Regions from separate parts of the Homo sapiens genome. Here all the other regions are linked to region 1. Evidence: promoter capture Hi-C in human tissues and cell types (Jung and others, 2019). All regions are on one chromosome and are shown on one strand. Each heading gives the region's core, a stretch centred on a gene start or on the middle of the fragment in contact. The rest is flanking DNA. Distances are from core to core; before and after follow the strand shown. Region 1 holds the start of SALL1 (spalt like transcription factor 1). Region 2 has its middle 140 kb from the start of SALL1. Region 3 overlaps LOC107984886 (a long non-coding RNA gene). Region 4 has its middle 230 kb from the start of SALL1. Region 5 has its middle 190 kb from the start of SALL1.

Region 1 (2,783 bases), core at 141-2,640:
TCCCTCCTTCACACCCCAAAATGCCGCCTAGGGCGTGGGCATCCCGAGTGGCATCCGGAGCCGCTGAGACCCCGCCGAGATTGCTCCTTGTGCGTCCTCCCACAGCCGAGAGGCCAGCATCGTGCCGGGACGACCCGGGGACCCGAGTCCGGGCGCCGCTACACCGCCTCGGGCGCTAGGCCTGGGAGCTTTGAGGCCGGTACCGTGAAACACCTTTAGGAGCAAGGAGGGATTCCAGGTGTCCTCCCTTTGTACCCCAACTCCCTGCCCGGATCTCTTCCACTCTCTGCCATAGCCCCCACACACAAACTTTGTTCTGGACTTGTTCAGCCCCTTCGGGACCCACAGTTGTCGCCTCCATCGGAGAAAACAAGTGCCCCTGTTTCAGGGGGGATTCCACTCTGGCTGGCCACCCGCAAACCTGGAAAACTATTCTATGACTTCTTCCCTGACCCCCCTGGAAGTAGGGAGCACCACGATCCGCAGAGGGCGCATACCGACCAGAAAGATTTTGGGGGGCAGAGGGTGCAAGTGTTGTGGGAAGAGATGCGGAGATAAATTTTGCGAGCCAGACCCCGACACTTTCCCCGTCCGTTTGCACCGTCTCCGGAACAACTGGCGGCCAGCAGCACTCTCCACCCCGGCCGCAACCCCAGCGGGTCAGGCGCTGGCGCCCCGACACCAGTCCCCATCTTCTTGCAGCTCTGAACCTCCAAAGACACCCGGTTCTGCCTCGCAGGCCGAGGGGGAGTGTGCGTGGGGGCAGGGGGGCGCAGCGAACTCCCCCACGCTCGGAGTTCAGCCCAGCGCCCGAAGTAAACTTCCTTACCGCTGGCAGCAAGGCCGGGCGGCGGAGGCCGGGCCGGGTGCCCTGGGGCCGGCGCCGGGAGCGCTAGGGGCCCCGTGCGGTCAGGCCGGGGCGACCTCCACCCGCACCCACGCCTCATGGGGCTCCCGGGTCTTGGCCGCGGCTGGGATCCCCGGAAAAGCAGGGACGGAGAAGCCAGGCCGGCATGCCCGCCCTCCTTCCCCCGGGAGGACCCAACAACTCCGGAAAGATCCTGCCGGGAGATGTGCTCGCTTTCCCCGGGGCAGCGGGGGAAAGCCCAGCAAAGGCACATTGAAAATTAAAAAGAAAAAAAAAATTACGCCGAGTGGAAGAAGCAATCGGGGCCGCGGCGGCGGTGAGGTAGGGGGCGCGGGGGCCAGCCGCGTGTGAGTGGGTCCGAGTGTGCGTGAGTGTGAGTGCGTGTGTGTGTGTCCACGGCGCGGGCCGGAGCACTCACCATCTCGCCGGGGGAGCGAGGCCACTTCGGGGTCGGATTGGAAATGTTGAGGCTTCGCTTGCTTCCTCCGCGACATGCTGGCTCAAACATCAGCTGGGGCAGAATAAAAAATTACTAAAAAAAAATCTTCTCAAAATTACGGAAATCGAGCGGCGGCGGCGGCGGCGGCTCCCCCCGCCCGCCGGCCCGCCCGCCCCCTCCCCGGCTCCCCGGCCCCGGGCGCAGCGCGCATGTGTCCTGCTATAATTATGATTATCAATAATGCATTGCGATTAATCATAGAGGGGCTCTTTGAAAGGCGATTGGCACCGGGCCAGCGCTATTCAAACCCGCTCGCCTTAATCAATTAGTTCGTGATTTGCTGCAGACCCCTGTCTCTCCGCGCGCTGGCCCAATAAGCCGGCCGCGGGGCTGGCTCTGCGCGCCGCGCCGCCCGACACTGGGTTAACCCTCTTTGCGACCGCCCGGGACTCCGCGGCCCGGCCGCCGGGGGCCGGCCTCCTCTCCACTGCGGGCCCGGCGCCCCGGCAGGCGCCCCCCGCTCTCTCCCTCTCCCCTCCCTCTTCCCTCCCTCCTTCGCCCCCCCCCACAATCCCGGGCTGGGCCGACCCAAATTAGCATGCCCTCCCCGGAATTGAGCCGCCCCGGGTGGGGGGTGGGGCCGGGCGGCGAGGGCTGGGGACCCGGGCTGCCGGCGCGCTGCGAACTTCCCAACTCGGGGGCGAGGCGCGCCGGCCCGCGGGGGGAGGGAGTCCCGCGGCGGGATCAGGGGGGAGGGCGTCCCGTTTCGTGAGTGTTTCTTCGTTTCTTTAAGAGCTACCAGAAAGCAGCCCACCCCCACCCCCATTAAAAAAAAAAATAAGCGAGTGGGGAAGAGCCAGCCCCACGCCGGTCCGCCTCCCGCCCACGGCTCGGCCTCCCTCCCGCCTGGCTCGGCGCTCCTCCGCCCCGAGTTCTCCATCCCCTGGATCCCGGGCTCGCGGGGGCGCGGAGAAGAGGATCCAGGAAAGGTTTGGGAACCTGATGGGTTTGTGGCTGGGGGGAGGGGCAGTTCTCCCGCCACCCCATCCCCTCCCCGCCAGGGGCACTGATCCTCCAGCTTCTTGCTTGCTCCCTCGCTCCCTTTCTCTACCTCGGACATTCCCAGGACAATTAGGGCTGAAGTTTTCGGGAGAAGCAGCCCCGAGCCCGTGGGATAAGGGGGCGGCCCGGCTCCGCCCAGGACCCCTCCCGGACCTCCCCCCCGGCTGCCCCGGTTGGCTGCAGGGCGCGTCACTCCGCGGGGAGGCGGCGGCAGCGGTGGCGCCGCAGAGCCCCGGGCGGGCGGAGAGCGGGGACCGGCCTGGGCTCCGAGTTCAGCTCCGGCCGGGGGGAGGGGAGGGGCTGCGGCTCACACTGAGCGCAGCAGCGAGCACCGGCCTAGGGAGACACAGCCCGGGCGGACCCGGCACTGGACTGGGCCAGTCCCTGGGACCCCTGGGCACCCCGCCCTGGGGA
Region 2 (2,744 bases), core at 172-2,671, 140 kb after region 1:
TTTATTTATAGTTTTTCTTTGCTCACTATTTGTCTGACTTAAGAGTGAAAGAGCTTTCTTATCTTTTTGTTCTCTTCTGCATGGAGTCATCATTCATACATTCATTCATTCACTCACTTATTCAGCTATATTTACTGGATTCACTTGTAACTGACAATTCCAAAGAAACCTACATTCCAGTAAAGAAAGTAAAATAATAAACACATGGGCAAATAAATGATAGATTATATTTCTTAGGATTGTGAAAAGTATTAAGTTTTTAAAATTTAAAATAGTTTATTAGTGTAAGGTTCTGAGCCCAATGCCTGGTACTTAGTATCTGCTTTGCAAACATTGAAGTTTTGTGCTAACTCAGCACTCGAGACTCTTAGGTAAACCTGTCTTCAATGAATTTATAGTCAAATGCAGGAGACTGATGTGTTTAAAGATAAATTATATTAGATGGGGCTACTATCTCTTTAGAGAGGTTAACTGAGGCCAAGAGGCCATTGATAAGATCATTGAGCCCGTTGGAGATGTTTGGACGAGCAGTCATGCCCAGCAAGAGGTTAGAGAAGATGACCTCTTAAGGCCTTCTGCTTGCCTGACCCTGTTTTGCTTGCTCCATGAGGTGGCTCCCATTTAGCCAGAGCTGTTTAAATGGGTGTAGACCATAGAAGGGGAAAATTACATGCAGTTACTCCTGCAACACTCATTTGCCTGCTAACTTGGTGCCATTTACAAATGGTTTTCACATAGTCTTTAAAGTAGGGCTTCTCAACCTGGGGGAAGAAATCTTGAAATTGCACGCATCATATTTAGTGGATATACAAGAAAATATATATACATTTTTTTGTTCCTGAGGAGAAGGACAATAGCTTCATCAGTGTTTCCAAGGCATTTTGTGTCACAAGCACCACTTAGTTAAGTTGACAACACTTAGGGTATTTCAGAATTATGAACCTATTTTCTAATTTTTTTAAAAATACAAGGCTTTCCTCCTAATTTGGGGTGAGATTTCTAAACCTACTAAATTCATATAGCTTTATATTTGCTGATTCAATAAATATTTATTGAGCAACAGGTAAGGCCCAGCATTGCTGAAGATTCTGTAAAAACAGCAAGGCCATGTCAAAGGAAGTTCCTGCTCTAAGGTTCCCTTCTGGGAAGCAAGGAGAGAAGAGACTAAACAAGTAAAGAAACATAAGATAACCTCAGTTGGTGCTAAGTGCTCTGGAGAAACGAAAGCTGAGTGATGCCATAGAGAAGGAAGAGGGCATTGCTTTCTATTGAATAGTCAGGGAAGGTCTCTTTGCCAAGGCAGCATTATAGCAGACACCTGAATTGACAAGATAGAGTCAGCTAAACAAAGATTCAGGAGAAGAATATTTCAGGCATTTTAAGCAAGACAATGGCTTATGCAAATGTTCTGAGGCAGAAATCAGCATGGTGGATTTCAAGGATGCAATGAGGCAGTGTGGCTCTAGAGTCATGAATAGGGGGAGAGGTGATATAAGATGAAGCAGAAACATAGGTGGAGGCAGGATCTCCTAGGGCCTGGTAAGACTTGATTAAGAGTTTGAATTGGATTTTCATGTCGTGGGAAATCACTGGAAGTTATTACCAAGGCCTCATAGTTTCCCATGGCATGCGATGCTTCTGACAATATGAATGTGTTCCTCTATTTGGACAGAATAGCAACACACCCTTATTCTTTTAAGAAGAGACCTTGGGTGTGACCTTCCCAATTGAGTTTAGAATATCACTTTGTATCCCATAAATATGTACAATTTTGTGTCAGTTAAAAATAAAACAAACCAAAATACCCTCACCAACAAGCCCTGCAGTTGAAAGATACTCCGCTAAGGTACGCTGAGAGAATGCAAGGCCAGCTGTGCTTCAAGAATGCAATCTTTTCTATTACAATGCAAAGCAGCTTAGCTCACCAGTGCCTTCAACCTCTGCATCATAGATGGGGAAAGTTGGTGCCACTCTGCATAAGCAGACAGCCTCTTAGAGCATTTTTCTCAAAATAAAGTTTATCTTTCCTCAGATTTTAAATGAACCTTTATTCTAGAAGAAAACAAATCAATAAAAGCATGCACATAGCTCTGTGCTTACATTTATAAAATTAATTTAGGAATGGTTTTTTTAAAAAGTTAGTGTAAAACAGGTCTATCCCAAATTGGGTCCTTTAGGAAGCAGACTCTGAGATAGAGATTATCAAGTGGGAAGTTTATAAAGGAAGACTCTTGAGATCGACGCCTGTGAGGGAAAATGCGGAAGCAGAATTGGGGCTGAGGGAGTGGCTGGGCTGTGATGCTGTCACAGTAATGCAGTGATTCCATGGGGACCTCTGAAGCTGGGCTGGCTCTTCAGAATGGTCCTTAGTTGAGTGAGGAAACCAGGACTTTACATCACTGCTCTAGACTAAATATCTTATGTAGACTACCTCTAGAAGGAAGGGACTTGGGCGAGGCAGCTTTCTTTAGCTGAGGCACTATCTGAAGAAGGCTGATAGCTGAGGACTGTCTAGTACTGTAGGCAGTAGCCCAACAGCTGGGGCAACGTTTTTCTTCTCCAAAGGTGGATCTGAGGGGGGAAATATGGGTGTAAAGTGGAAAAGAAAAGCATCCCTTTTCCCTACCTTTTATACTCTATCTACTCCACAGAGGAACCATATTTGATTGTTTCTATTTTTAGTTTCTCCAAGTTGATTTCAAATGTCCACATGCAATGCACACAACTCTACTTCTTGGTCTATG
Region 3 (2,700 bases), core at 54-2,553, 170 kb after region 1:
GCTTTGGACTGTGAATAATTCAGTCAACCTGCAAGCCTCGATTATCTGCTCCGAGTTTGTGAAGACCATTGCTGTTGTCCCCGAGGTGTATTGATAAGTTAACATGATCGTAACTCTCAAGATGTTTATGGTTCAGTACCAGGAGCAAGAGAGATAAGTGTGATCATCAGAATTGTAGAAATATAAAAGTGGTGCAGAGGAGAAAGACTGAGATGAATGAAGTTGACAAGGATAACAGGTTGAACACTCCATAGTGGAAAGAGGCAGTGAGATGGGAAATTATTCCATAAAGCTTCCTTCAAAGAGTGTCAGCAAGATGCAATGCCAATGGAATAGAAAAATCTTTAGAATCACAGTGTCATATTTGAGGGACCTTTGACTTTACATGAAATTACCACTGCATGAGTACAGCAACACTTTAATCTTGGATATTCCTTTATTATTTATTCATCCAACCTAGCTTGCATAAATATTTCCTTGGGCTTTTTTGTTTTTCCATGTTTGTTGGCACTGATTTTTCAGCAAAGGAGCCTCTTAGACTGAATGTGCTGTTAAACTGTGGCCTCCTAGGCCTAACCCACTTGATAGCCTGCAGTTTGTGATGGTACCTCTGCTGCCCACTCCAACCACATCCCCTTCTTCTACCTGCCTGATCCACCCAGATCCCCTCTGATTAATTATTCACACCTATATATCTTCAACTTCCATTAGGACCTCCCTCACGTTGTGGTGCTTCTTTACCCGCAAAATGCAGAGCCCTGGCCGGGTGCGGTGGCTCACGCCTGTAATCCCAGCACTTAGGGAGGCCGAGGTGGGCGGATCACGAGGTCAGGAGATGGAGACCATCCTGGCTAACATGGTGAAACCCCGTCTCTACTAAAAATACAAATAATTAGCTGGGAGTGGTGGCGGGCGCCTGTAGTCCCAGCTACTCGGGAGGCTGAGGCAAGAGAATGGCGTTAACCCAGGAGGCGGAGCTTGCAGTGAGCCGAGAATGAGCCACTTTGATCCAGTAGGAATGCAGGCCGAGGGCTTCCCCTACAGGGTCTTACTGAAGCTGGGACTTTACCTGAAGTCACAGCCTGGCTTAAGTTCCTCCCCTTCCCTGTCCTGCTTCTTCCACTTTTCTGATAGTTTCTACTGGGAGCGATTCCTTAACCATCACTTATATACAATCATCTTGCCAGCTCAAGAGGCTCCAGCCTAAGTGGTGTTTCTTACAGTATTGTCTATTATAAGAAGCTAGGAGGCTTCTTATAATGGCAGGCTCTAAGTCCCCACCTCAGACCTTTTAAAACAGAATCTTGGGGGAGGTGGGGCAGGCCAGAGAATCTGCCATTTATTAACAAGACCCCCAAGTTAGCTTTTATTTTTTCTTAAATATAAGATGTTGATTAATAAATATTAAATTTTAATTAATAATTAACTTTCTTAAGGTTTTGCTTAATAAAAACTAAAGTTTTACTTATGGGGCAGTGACATTTAAAGCAAGTATACATCAAGTATTTGGGGATGAGGATTAATGAGGTAGGTTATAAATAATACCTCAGTTGGCCTTGCCTCAGGGTCTATTAAATGATTGAATGATCTGAATCTAGAGGTAATGCTGGCCGGGCATGGTGGCTCACACCTGTCATTCCAACACTTTGAGAGACAGAGGCAAGGGGATCGCTTGAGCCCAAAAGTTCAAGAGACCAGTCCAGGCAACATAGCAAGAACCCATCTCTATTTTTTTTTTAAATGTCGATGTTCTGTGTTGATGGCATTTTGTGTATGTGTGTGCCTGCGTATGTAATGTCTGGACAAATCTTAGAAACACTATTTTCCCCCCCTCAACAGTAATTTTTTTTCCTCAGAAAATTTACTCTGGAAGCCAAATTCAGTGGTTTTCTATATTATTTTACTTTTTAAAATATTTTAATCAATGAAACACTTTAATTGAGTTTAGGTAGAAGTTCAATGTGTAGTGTGGACAAGCGCTGAGCTGTTCCACCTGATGGAGGTGGAGAGACTGGGATCCTGCCTGCTTCAATTCCTTCCCATTCTCTGATCAGAGCTACTTCCACTAACTCCTATTAGTTATTGAAAGGAGATTAATTGCCCTGTTATCTCAAGGATCTCCTAGAGCTCTTGCTGAGTGGAAGAGAAAAAGATAGATGAGCACTTTTTTTTCTAGGTTGCAGGCTTGGTACTTTGAGGGACTCAACTTTTTGGCAATGGAAAATGATATCCACTTGTTTGACCTAGCTACAAATGTATTGAATTATTATTATTATTATTATTTGAGACACAGTCTCACTTTGTCACCCAGGCTAGAGTGCAGTGGTGTGATCTCAGCTCACTGCAACCTCCGCCTCCTGGGTTCAAGTGAATCTCCTGCCTCAGCCTCCTGAGTAGCTGGGATTACAGGCGTGTACCACCACGCCAGGCTAATGTTTGTATTTTTAGTATAGATGGGGTTTCACCATGGTGGTCAGGCTGGTTTCAAACTCCTGACCTCAAGTGATCCACCAGCCTCCTAAAGTGCTGGGATTACAGACGTGTGAGGGGTCTAGAAATGACCCTTCTTGGACTCTCAGCCCCCAGGTTTTAGTGGGAGCCTGGATTTTAGCTTCCAGAGCCTGGAAGAACTTTACTAACCAGGTCTAGGCCTGAACCTTGGCTTTATTCACCTTGTGACTTATTGCAGGTTGTAAAAAA
Region 4 (2,700 bases), core at 12-2,511, 230 kb after region 1:
TATACAATTACAGCATTAAATATTCCCTTAAATATCCACTTCCATGATTCTGATATGTGCCCATCTCCCAGGGGGTGGTACCTTTCCTCCCCCAATTTCAGAATTACTGCTCCAGTTAATCTCTGAACCCTTTTACAACTCAAAATTCTGCAGGCCAATTCGTTGCCAACATTTGGTCAGGAGATGAGTGGAGAAGAGAGGGATTTAAAAAATATATTGGGCAGCTTTGTTCTTAAGCTGGTATTGGTGCCATTATGGATCTGGAGAGGTTTTGTAGTCAGATTTTGATTATTTGCTAGTTTTGGCAACTGTTGAGATGTTAGATCTCATATTGTTTCTATCATATTTTATAGTTTCTTGTTTAACTCTTTGCTGAACGTTTTAGACACACATCAAGACTCTCAAGCTTGATTTAAAACAGAATTGGCAATTGTGCCTCTCTTTTTACTTCAGGCTCTCCTGGCAGGACCTGACTCCAGGTTGTTGGGCAATGTTAAATCCCTATGCTGTGTTAGGGGATGGTAGTGCACTGAGTGGCCATCGTGATCTCAAACACAGGAAAAGACTTTACTGCATTTAAAGAAGGTAGTGCATTTAAAGAAGATTGGAATCCCCACAAGTGGGACCAATCAATCTGTATTGGCTTTATAAATTTATTCTTATTTGACACTTTGATACTTCTCTTTGAAATGCCTGACCCTACATGTTTCTTTTTAAATTATTACAGATTTCCCAAGATTGTTTACCATTCTGCTTTATGCCTTCCTTTGATACTGTCCTCTGGTCAAAGAAGCTCCATAACCCTCCCACCCCTGATGATCCCCACCACCATTGAGTTCAGTCTATGCATTTTAAAACTCCATCTTCAGGAACTTTTGAGGAAACTCTTACCTCCCCACACCCTCACTCCAAACAATAGTGCATTGGAGGTGATTTCAAATACAGTTCATTGAGGCTGAGGAAATGGACAAAAACTTCTGTGTGTTTGCCCTTAAAAAGAGAGGCTGCTTGCCTGGTTGAGTCTTTGACAACAGGCTGTGTTTCCTACCAGCTCTTAACTGTGGGCCCACACTGACATTTTTGTAGCCACATATTACATGATTGGTTTTTGATTTTTCAGTTCATAGCTTAAAATCACATTGATAAGAATATGACCTCCAAGCATTGGAAAATCAACTCCAGGTCCTGAATTCTCTGCATGCCAATGCTCTAAGTCACATGAGCAGAGTGCCGTGTTAGGTACATTACATAAACCATGCAGACTCTAGGTTAAATGGTTCTGGATTTTGTAATGTGAAAAGACCTCTGGTGACACAGCTGGGAATGTAGGTAATAGGTGTCACTTGACTATTATTGCTATATGCCTAAGAGCTGTTCGGAGGTAATCATGGTAGACATTAGCTTATTAGTTGCCACACCAGCAAACATTCTCTCTATCCCTCTTCACGTCATCCCTTGCACAAGTTAAGGTAGTACAATTTGCTTAACAGAGAAAAACCAACAGCTCAGCAGCTTGACATCACAGAGATCTCTTGCTTGGGTAAAATTCAATTGGAGGTGGAAGTTGAAGGGAGGCTCTGCTCCAGGCAGTCATTCAGGTATTGAAGTTATTCCATCTGTTATCCTATTCTCCACTAGGGTTTTAGAATCTTTTCCATTTATCCAGTGAATGGGGAAAAAGAGAGTGCAAAGAATTTTGTGGAAGATTTTCATGGGTCAGGGCAAGAAGTAGCCAACATTCACTAGCCATAACTCTATCACATGGCCCAAAGAGGTTAGGAAACGTGGTCTTGCTGTATGTATGTCTAGAATGAAAAAGCCCAGTGCTGTCCCTAGACCTGACACAAAAGGCCTCTGGCCTGTGCCCTCAGCTTGAGAGAGTTCTACAAATCACAAACATATGCATAAGAATACACTTATGACAGAATACATAGCTGCCTCTATCATGTGGATCTGGTGCTTAGCCCTGGCACAGCATGACCTAGTCTGCTTCTGTGGCTAATACAGTTCAGGCCCCAGGGAAATGCTTCTCCACCTCTCCAGTCATGTTTCCTCAAAACAACATGCAGATGGGCCTGAATGCCAGGAAGATCTGAGGGTGCCCCACTGTTGAAGTCAGAGAAAGACAGTGCTGTGGAGAGCAGGAAGAACTCAGCGATGGAAGCTTTTAGGTAACATAAAAGACAAATTACACACATCTTCTTCCCAGATAGGAAGAATGTGGTAGGTTTTGGCATAACAAAACATTATTCCCACGAACAAGGAGAACCCCTTCCCTGCTTCTCTTTGTGCTCTCCTGGGTGACATCAGAGGGACTCACAGGCAGCTTCACCCTTATTCTTCAATGTGTTGTAACTATGAAGGCATTTTTCAAGGTAGAAGTGGGGTTGCCAGATTAAGCAACTAAAAATTTAGGAAGTCTTTTTAATCTGGCAACCCAGGGCAGGTAGAACATATTTTATTAAACTGTTTGTTAGCTTGATTGATAACTTAAAAATCTTCATACATATGGAGGGTGGGCTTCTATTTATATTCTTTCCTGGGATCCCCACATATTTAGGGATGAGCCTGGGCCCAAGTTTTGTTTGGGAGCTTCACAACTTAGAGGCTATCACTTCCTTTCCTGGCTGTAGGAGTGGATCAAGTGACAATGCTAAACAAACCAGCACAGCCAACCTCCTGGTCCAGAGGATCACACGT
Region 5 (2,700 bases), core at 162-2,661, 190 kb after region 1:
GAGATACCATCTCACAACAGTTAGAATGGTGATCATTAAAAAGTCAGGAAACAACAGGTGCTGGAGAGGCTGTGGAGAAACAGGAACACTTTTACACTGTTGGTGGGACTGTAAACTAGTTCAACCGTTGTGGAAGACAGTGTGGTGATTCCCCAAGGATCTAGAACTGGAAATACCACTTGACCCAGCCATCCCATTACTGGGTATATACCCAAAGGATTATAAATCTTGTTGCTATAAAGACACATGCAGATGTATGTTTATTGTGACACTACTCACAATAACAAAGACTTGGAACCAACCCAAATGTCCAGCAATGATAGACTGGATTAAGAAAATGTGGCACATATACACCATGGAGTACTATGCAGCCATAAAAAAGGATGAGTTCATGTCCTTTGTAGGGACATGGATGAAGCTGGAAACCATCATTCTCAGCAAACTATCGCGAGGACAAAAAACCAAACACCGCATGTTCTCACTCATAGGTGGGAATTGAACAATGAGAACACATGGACACAGGAAGGGGAACATCACACACAGGGGCCTGTCATGGGGTTGGTGGAGAGGGGAGGGATAGCATTAGGAGATATACCGAATGTAAATGATGAGTTAATGGGTGCAGCACACCAACATGGCACATGTATACATATGTAACAAACCTGCACATTGTGCACATGTACCCTAGAACTTAAAGTATAATAATTTAAAAAAAGCAAATAAAAAAATGGGTAACCCCATCGTTTTCCACAAACTGATTAAGTTTGGATGCCATCTACCCAGTTTTCTTCTCTAATCCATTATATCTCTTTATTCTTTCAACAAACATTAAACCCAATTCTGTGATAGGAACAGAAAGCACAGAGAAAAACTGAGGTAAGTGTCCACCTCTCCTGGGTAGAATGGTCCCGATATTCTGGCACAAGCTCATGGGTTGTCACACTCTCCCATCCTCAGCCTCTGTCACTTCTCCACACCTGTATCCCACCCCAGCCGGAGGCTTGGACTGTCATGCCAGCACCTCCCTCCTGGCTTGCAGATCCTTCAAGCCAGTGGTTCTGCACACCTGATGGCGGTCCTCTGCCTACAGGTGTCTTCCTTAAACATTTTCCCAATGATTAAAAGGTCATTAGTGAGGTGCTGTGGAAGGAAGGCTACAGAAGCAAAATACATTTAGACAATGCAGTATCCTTTATCCTCTTCTTGGAGACTCTTAAGAAACACTGAAAAACATAAGACTCCTGGATGTTCTGGGGTGATGAAGTCTATTTAACTTTGTTTCACCAAACACTCTCCAAGCTTAGGTGGCCACAGGGCGATTGGTCCCACGACACTTAATATCGTTCACTCTTCTTTTCCCATCACCATCTCCATTTTCTTTTCCTGTTTTGTCTTTCTCCTTGGAACTTAGCACTTTCTCAAATTCAGTTTGTCACATGTGTATATTGAATATTCTGTTTCTGTCCTCCCCACATTCCTATTGGAATTCAAGCTTTATGGAGTTAAGGATGAACACACACACACGCACGCACTAACAGGCACGTGCACGCATGCACAGGCACACGCACCTAGAATAGTGCCTGTAACATGGTGAATCCTCAACTCACTACATATTTGTTGTAGTGAGTTGTAGCATGCTTAGGCCAGCATGCCTCTCTCAGTCCATGTTAGACAATATCGGGATCAAGCAGAAATCACTTAGCTGCTAGCTCCAGGAAATACCTGCTCTTGTGAATCAACCAAAACACTTACTTTTTATCAGTTTTGATGACTGACTTCTTGCTCATCAAAGTTTGCTTCAGGACCCTTGCCTCACTCTGTCTGCTAATTCGAAACCACTTGTTAGAAATTCTGTCCTGTGCCAATAGCTCTCCTACCTTGTAAGACCCCCCCTTAAAATCACTCACCCTGGCCCTAAAGCCCCATCAATGCCTTCCTTAATTGTCCCCATATTGAGATTCTATCAAGGTGGTGTTCTGCGTCACCGCAGCTGGTCTGATCAACTTAGCTGTGCTCAGTCCACAGGTTTTCTGACGGTCCTTGGCAAGGCCAGTGATTGACAATTCAATTATTGTAGTATGAATGAATCCTGTTGACTGCTAATCCAAAGAATCAACTTTGGCAAACAGGTGTTTTAACAGGCCAGGAGCAAGCTTCTCAGCCTGCAGTTCAAGGTCTTTGGGTCACATTTCTCACCATATGCTGTACCCTGGCTATTTCAGATACTCTTACACCTTAGCTTGCATTCTTCTGTCAACCGCTCACAGGAGTGGTTCACTGGCTTGTTGATGAGCCTCCCTAATCTCTCACAATTTCAGGGACTACATTTAGGGCATGCAAATCTACTGAAAAATCTTTGGGTCCAAGTAGACCACACTTTTTGATTAACTTATATAAGAGCAGGATCTTGCTTTTCTCACTGGTCACATAGGTATTAGAATTCCTCCTCTGCCCTTCTTGAAGCATTTGTATTATAATTTAAAGCCTGCTAGAGCTGCCTTAAATGACTACAAACTTGCTGGCTTAAAACAATAGAAATGTATCATCTCACTGTTTTGGAGGCCAGAAGTCCAAAGTCAAGGCATTAGCAGGGCCACACTCCCTCTGAAGGCTCTAGAGGAGAACATTCCTTTGTCTTTTTTAGCCCCTGGTGGCGGCTCCAGGCATCCCTTGGCTTGTGGGTGACATCCTGGCTGCCTA

What was found. Contacts are between HindIII fragments. The study calls those that stand out against the background at their distance.
Region 2: a fragment that was not itself captured here is called in contact with the fragment with the promoter of SALL1 in region 1 in 3 of the 25 tissues and cell types used here (dorsolateral prefrontal cortex, pancreas and thymus).
Region 3: a fragment that was not itself captured here is called in contact with the fragment with the promoter of SALL1 in region 1 in 2 of the 25 tissues and cell types used here (bladder and mesendoderm cells).
Region 4: a contact is called between a fragment that was not itself captured here and the fragment with the promoter of SALL1 in region 1, in 2 of the 25 tissues and cell types used here (H1 embryonic stem cells and mesendoderm cells).
Region 5: a fragment that was not itself captured here is called in contact with the fragment with the promoter of SALL1 in region 1 in 2 of the 25 tissues and cell types used here (H1 embryonic stem cells and mesendoderm cells).

The regions. Positions count from the first base shown.
Region 1 is chr16:51,149,880-51,152,662 of GRCh38, forward strand. SALL1 (spalt like transcription factor 1) reads right to left here and starts at 1,391. Exons shown (of 3, transcript NM_002968.3): 1 at 1,287-1,391. The coding sequence starts at 1,362. RefSeq lists an enhancer at 588-1,088. The HindIII fragment of the contact is 9,229 bases long and covers 1-2,783 here.
Region 2 is chr16:51,289,186-51,291,929 of GRCh38, forward strand. No RefSeq gene overlaps it. Among named protein-coding and RNA genes, the nearest start is that of SALL1, 140 kb to the left of the region's middle. RefSeq lists an enhancer at 1,655-2,165. The HindIII fragment of the contact is 5,467 bases long and covers 1-2,744 here.
Region 3 is chr16:51,318,252-51,320,951 of GRCh38, forward strand. LOC107984886 (a long non-coding RNA gene) reads left to right here. Exons shown (of 4, transcript XR_001752175.1): 4 at 1-807. Among named protein-coding and RNA genes, the nearest start is that of SALL1, 170 kb to the left of the region's middle. The HindIII fragment of the contact is 4,498 bases long and covers 1-2,700 here.
Region 4 is chr16:51,381,135-51,383,834 of GRCh38, forward strand. No RefSeq gene overlaps it. Among named protein-coding and RNA genes, the nearest start is that of SALL1, 230 kb to the left of the region's middle. The HindIII fragment of the contact is 5,047 bases long and covers 1-2,700 here.
Region 5 is chr16:51,335,240-51,337,939 of GRCh38, forward strand. No RefSeq gene overlaps it. Among named protein-coding and RNA genes, the nearest start is that of SALL1, 190 kb to the left of the region's middle. The HindIII fragment of the contact is 5,068 bases long and covers 1-2,700 here.